Regions from separate parts of the Homo sapiens genome. Here region 2 is linked to region 1. Evidence: promoter capture Hi-C in 16 types of primary human blood cells and fetal thymus (Javierre and others, 2016). All regions are on one chromosome and are shown on one strand. Each heading gives the region's core, a stretch centred on a gene start or on the middle of the fragment in contact. The rest is flanking DNA. Distances are from core to core; before and after follow the strand shown. Region 1 holds the start of MYO1F (myosin IF). Region 2 overlaps KANK3 (KN motif and ankyrin repeat domains 3).

Evidence for each region. The method cuts DNA at HindIII sites, captures the fragments that hold promoters and counts their contacts. A CHiCAGO score of 5 or more calls a contact.
Region 2: a contact is called between a fragment that was not itself captured here and the fragment with the promoter of MYO1F in region 1, in 1 of 17 cell types (neutrophils). The highest score is 5.1, in neutrophils.

What each region holds. Positions count from the first base shown.
Region 1 is chr19:8,575,989-8,578,913 of GRCh38, forward strand. MYO1F (myosin IF) reads right to left here and starts at 1,454. Exons shown (of 28, transcript NM_012335.4): 1 at 1,319-1,454. The coding sequence starts at 1,321. RefSeq lists enhancers at 299-358, 529-708 and silencers at 829-878, 1,416-1,565, 2,786-2,925. The HindIII fragment of the contact is 24,150 bases long and covers 1-2,925 here.
Region 2 is chr19:8,323,596-8,326,525 of GRCh38, forward strand. It overlaps KANK3 (KN motif and ankyrin repeat domains 3), which reads right to left. Exons shown (of 11, transcript NM_198471.3): 8 at 1,356-1,501; 9 at 1,035-1,235; 10 at 854-952. Among named protein-coding and RNA genes, the nearest start is that of RPS28, 3.6 kb to the left of the region's middle. The HindIII fragment of the contact is 3,860 bases long and covers 1-2,930 here.

The DNA.
Region 1 (2,925 bases), core at 204-2,703:
CCAATTTCTCATCAGCTTTCCTTTTTTGAGACGGAGTGTGCTCTGTCACCCAGGCTGGAGTGCAGCGGCAGGATCTCAGCTCACTGCACCCTCCGCCTCCTGGGTTCAAGTTATTCTCTTGCCTCAGCCTCATATGTAGCTGGGATTACAGGCGTGTGCCACCACGCCCAGTTAATTTTTTGTATTTTTTAGTAGAGACGAGGTTTCACCACGTTGGCCAGGCTGGTCTCGAACACCTGACCTCAAGTGATCTACCTGTCTCAGCCTCCTAAAATGCTGGGATTACAGGCATGAGCCACTGTCCCTGGCCCTCACTGGCTTCCTGAAAGAAGGTGTTGTCTCTCAGACTAACACCACCTCTGCCTCTTGCCCTATGTCCCTGACTCCACCCTAGTAAGCTGTACCTGCCAAGAATCCTGCAGTGGCCGCTGTCACAGCCACATGCTCTCATCCTCACTGACTGAATGACGAGAAATGAAAGCTGAAGTGGTCTACACAGCAGAGAGCTGTGGGGTGGGGTCAGCCCTGGCCACCTCTTACTTTGCGTCTTATGGTGGTACGATACTGCTAGGAATAGCGCCATGATCACGACAGTCTCCCCGTTGCTATCATCGACAGACCTCAGACTTGACAGGCAGCAACACCTCTGGCTGCCATCCTCCTCTTGGGATAAGGGATGCCCACCAAAGGGTGGCATGGACGTATTCAGCCTCTCCTGCCTCTGCTGCAGCCATACCGCCCGTCACCGGCACAGGGAGGGCGTCAATCCACCCCATCGCTTGTTAGACATAGCTTCCCATCTCAGCCGAGGACTCTGTGGCAGAACCCACAGACCTTGAGAATGTTGCAACTGAAAGACCCCTGAAGAGCAACTTCCGCATCTAGACGGATTTCCAAATATGACATCTGTGGGAACCGGGGCCAAGAGAGGGGAAGTGACTAGCCCAAGGCTACACAGGGAGACGAGAGACTGGGCTGGACTGGGAAAGGGCTCCCTTAATTTGCAAGCAAAGGAGGCTATGTCCTTGTCCCTGCAGACTCTGTGATTCTCCCTGGGCCACCTTCTGTCTTCCAGGTCCTGCCCTATCCTTGGATCCAGGGATACCACCCTGGCATCCCCACCACCTACAGATGGGAGCTTGCTCCCTGGTAAGGGATGCTGGAGGCACCTGAGCTGCACTGAGAGACACCCCACCCCCACAGAAGTCCACCATGCCCCTCCCCTCACCCCAATTTCTGATGGTCATTTTTAGGACACCTCCACCTGGCTGGTGTCCCTCCTCTTTCTTCTTCCAGATCCCACCCTTGAAGGACTTACCATGGTGGGGGGCTGGTGTCTGGGCTCCTGGAGGCTCCTGAATGGGTCGTGATGGAGGTGCAGGTTCAGGGGGATCTTGGGGGTGGCTTGGGCATGGCCCTGCTTCTGCCCGTTCACCGGACTCCCGGCTTTAGTTCCTCTTACAACAGCCCCTTCTCACTTCCTTTGGCGGGAGGGGCCGAGGCCATGGGGGAGGGAAGCTGGGTGTGGAGGGGGGCGGGGAGCTGGCTGTTTGGGGCTCTGAGCCTGAAGGGAGGGGTCAGAACTTGATGGCAGCCACTACTGGACCTCAGAGGCCTCTTCCCCAACTCCTTGGGGACAGGGCTGCTGCAGGAACATTTGGGTCAGCTGGCTGCAGGACGAACCACCTCTTTTCAGGGCGATTCAGGAAGCATTTGGGCTTCCCGGGTCTCTTTTTAAAACCAAGGAAGGGGCCCAGGGGAGGTGGCTCACGCCTGTAATCCCAATACTTTGGGGGGCCAAGGTTGGAGGATCGCTTGAGTCCAGGAGTTTGAGACCAGCCTGGGCTATATAGCATGACCCCATCTCTACAAAAAATGAAAAGAAAAAAAATTAGCTGGGCATGGTGGCATGAGCCTGCAGTCCCAGCTACTCAGAGGGCTGAGGTGGGAGGATTGCTTGAACCTGGGAGGTGGAGGCCTCAGTGAGCCCTGATTGCGCCACTGCACTCCAGCCTGGGCGAAAGAGTGAGACCCTGTCTCTAAAAACAAACCAGAAAAAACAAAAAAACCAAAAAAACAACAACAACAGGGAAGGGTGCCTTCTTCAGCTGTGTCTGCTCTGGGCATCCCTGGGCAACCTCCTTCATTATTATTATTGTTATTATTTTGAGACGGAGTCTAGCTCTGTCACCCAGGCTAGAATGCAGTGGTGCAATCTCAGCTTACTTTAATCTCCGCCTCCTGGGTTCAAGCGATTCTCCTGCCTCAGCCTCCTGAGTAGCTGGGATTACAGGTGCCCACCGCCACACCTGGCTAATATTTGTATTTTTAGTAGAGACGGAATTTCGCCATGTTGGCCAGGCCGGCCTTGAACTCCTGACCTCAGGTGATCCTCCCAACTCGGCCTCCCAAAGTGCTGGGATTACAGGCATAAGCCACCACGCCTGGCCCAACCTCCCTCTTTAGATGACCCTCAGAAGTCACACGTGTTTGTGTGCAGAAGTGGAGGGTACTGGGAAGCAGGTGCATCTGAAAGGTCCCTGACTTTGGATGTCACATCTAGATTTAACAGCCTCCAGTTTGGCTACTTCCTGGATGACTTAGTTACTCCCTTTTCTCATTGTAAAATGGGAACGTGGGTCCCCCCAGCAGAGCCTGGCCCAGGTACGTGTCAGCCTATGAGCTGGTCTTTGGGACACCAGCCAACCACCTGAGGCTCCTCTTGACATGTGAGGAAATGGCAGTTCTAATAGGTTGTTACTTCCCCACACCACCCAGCAAGGAGGTGGCCGAGGCAGGACCCGACCCTGGGAGACCCTGGGGGACCCATGTTCAGATCTATCTTTGGTCCAGGGCGATAAACCCGCATCCCCCTTGAAGATGTTAATATGCAGCGCCCCTAGTGGCCACAGCTGGGAAGGAGCC
Region 2 (2,930 bases), core at 330-2,829, 250 kb before region 1:
GGTAGCACGTGCCTGTAGTCCCAACTACTTGAGAGGCTGAGGCAGAAGAATCGCTTGAACCCCAGAGGTGGAGGTTGCAGTGAGCTGCAGTCGCCCCACTGCACTCTAGCCTCGGTGACAGAGGAAGACTCCATCTCAAAAATAAATAAAAAATGGTAAGTGGAGCCATGGTAAATTGGGGTCAACCTGTACAGGATGAGTGGGCTGATTAGATAACTTGGATTATGAAAGTGCTAAAACATCCTGGCACTTGGCCATCAGAGTATAGTGGTGTTGGGGGTTAATGTGTTCTGCAAACTCACCCAGTCTCCAGTTCTGAAGCTCTGGACCCCCTTCCCCACCCTGCCTGATGCCAAAGGGCTCCTTTTTCCTTTGATAAGAGCCTCCCTGGCAGTAGGTAACAGGAGCCCAGGGGCATGCATGAAAGGTCTTAGCTAGGTCTCTGTGACCTTAGGTTACTTCCCCCCTTGAGGACTCAGTCTCATGACCTGGGGTAGTGTCAACCTCACTGGGGTTTTGCTGCTTTCACATCAAATCCCAGCCCCTGCCAGGCGCTCTGGTTTCACACCTGTAATCCCAGCACTTGAGGATGCTGAGGCAGAAGGATCCCTTGAGCTCAGGAGTTTGTGGCTGCAGTGAGCTCTGATCACACCACTACACCCCAACCCGGGTTACAGAGTGAGACCCTGTCTCCCAAAAAAGAAAAGCAGCCACATAGGAGAATCCAGACACTGGTTCTGCACCCCTGGTGCCACCTTTGGGGAGCAGAAAGGGAGGCTCAGGGCATATTTACTATCCTCTGCAAACTGAATTTGCAGCTGGGAAAGTTTGTTTCTTCCAGAGCTGTGCTCACCTGGGTGTCGGGCTGGCCCGAGCTCAGGTGGGCATGTAGCAGAGCGGCCACCTCATCCTGCTCAGCCTCCAGGGCGATGGCCAGGGCACTGGTGCCCTCCTGTGGAACGTTAGGGACAGTCAGATCCCTGAGCCAAGCCATGGGCACCCCCCAAGATGCCAGCCCCATTGTGGGGTCTTACATTGTCCAGGATGGCAGGGTCACAGCCTGGCTGGGTGAGCAGCAGCCGCACGGTGTCCAGGCGCCCATACTCACTGGCACACATCAGCGCTGTGGCCCCATCCGCATCCTGCGCATTCACATCAGCCCCACACGCCAGTAGGGTTGCCACCATGTCCTGTCGGCCATGGCTGATGGCCAGCATGAGGGCTGTCTGCCCCGTCTGGGGAGTGGGGAGGAAGAGGGAACAGGCTGGGGTAGGCTCAGGGAAGGGAGGTCACAGGTTGACTCCCAAAGTGGAAGTGACTCCTGGCTGAGAGCCACAGTGGGGGCGCCCACGCACCTGACTGGCCTTGGCATTGACATCACCCATGCAGAAGAGTCTCTGGACCACAGCCATGTCCTCCTCTTCCTGCCTCACAGAGGTGAGTGCAGCCAGCATGAGGGCCGAGTAGCCGGCTCGGTTCTGGCGGTTGACCTCGCAGGCCCCTGGGAGAGAAAAGGGGGCCGTCCACGGAGATGCCAACACCGCGGCCCGACTTGATCCACTCACCTCCCTGCAAGCCTCGGGCACAGCACCTGCATATGGGGTGGTCTCAACGTTCTCCCCACAATAGCTACCTGGTTCCTCCCTCACTAAGGTGTTGCTCAAATACCATCTGCTCAGTGAAGGACCTTCCTGTTTCATCTTTTTTTTTTTTTTTTTTTTTTTTTTGAGACATAGTCTCGCTCTGTCACCCAGGCTGGAGTGCAGTGGTGCGATCTCAGCTCACTGCAATCTCCACCTCCGGAGTAGCTGGAACTACAGCATGTGCCATCACACCCAGCTAATTTTTGTATTATTTAGTAGAGACAGGGTTTCACCATGTTGGCCAGGCTAGTCTCGAACTCCTGACCTCAAGTGATCCACCCACCGTAGCCTCCCAAAGTGCTGGAATTAGAGGCATGAGCCACTGGCCCAGTGGCTATTTCAAATCAAGTCCCTGTTTCAAATCAGGCAGGGACTTGGTTTTGTTTGCTTCTGTATCCCTCAGTACTTAGAACAATACTTGGCACATAGTAGATGCTCAGTTAAACATTTGTTGACTGAATAATAAAAGGATATGTTTATTTTCATGGCCACCACCCGCCAAGCCACCATCATTGCTCCCCTAAAGAACAGTGCCAGCCTCCACCCTTCTCTCTGAATCCACTCCAGGTTCCACACAGCAGCCAGGAGCAACTATTTATTTATTTAGAGATGGAGTCTCATTCTGTCGCCCAGGCTGGAGTGCAGTGGCACGATCTCAGCTCACTGCAACCTCTGCCTCCCAGGTTTAAGCGATTCTTCTGCCTTGGCCACTTGAGTAGCTGGGATTACAGGCATGCACCACCACGCCCAGCTAATTTTTGTATTTTTAGTAGAGACGGTTTCACCATGTTGGTCAGGCTGGTCTCGAACTCCGACCTCATGATTCGCTTGCCTCAGCTTCCCAAAGTGCTGGGATTACAGGTGTGAGCCACCGCGCCTGGCCAAGAGCAACAATTCAAAATGAATTTGGTTGCCAGGACACTGGCTCACGTCTGTAATCCCAGCACTTTGAGAGGCCGAGGTGGTTGATCACTTGAGGTCAGGAGTTCGAGACCAGCCTGGCCAATGTGGTGAACCCCATCTCTACTAAAAACACAAAAAATAGCCAGGCGTGGTGGCAGGCACCTGTAATCTCAGCTACTCAGGAGGCTGAGGCAGGATAATCACTTGAACCTGGGAGCTGCAGTGAGCCAAGATCACGCCACTGCACTCCAGCCTGGGTAACACAGTGAGACCCTGTCTCAAACAAACAAACAAAAACACCTGCCAACACCTTGATTTCAGACTTCTGGCCACCTGTTGTAAAAAAAAAAAAAAAAAAAAAAAAAGCCAGGTGCAGTGGCTCAC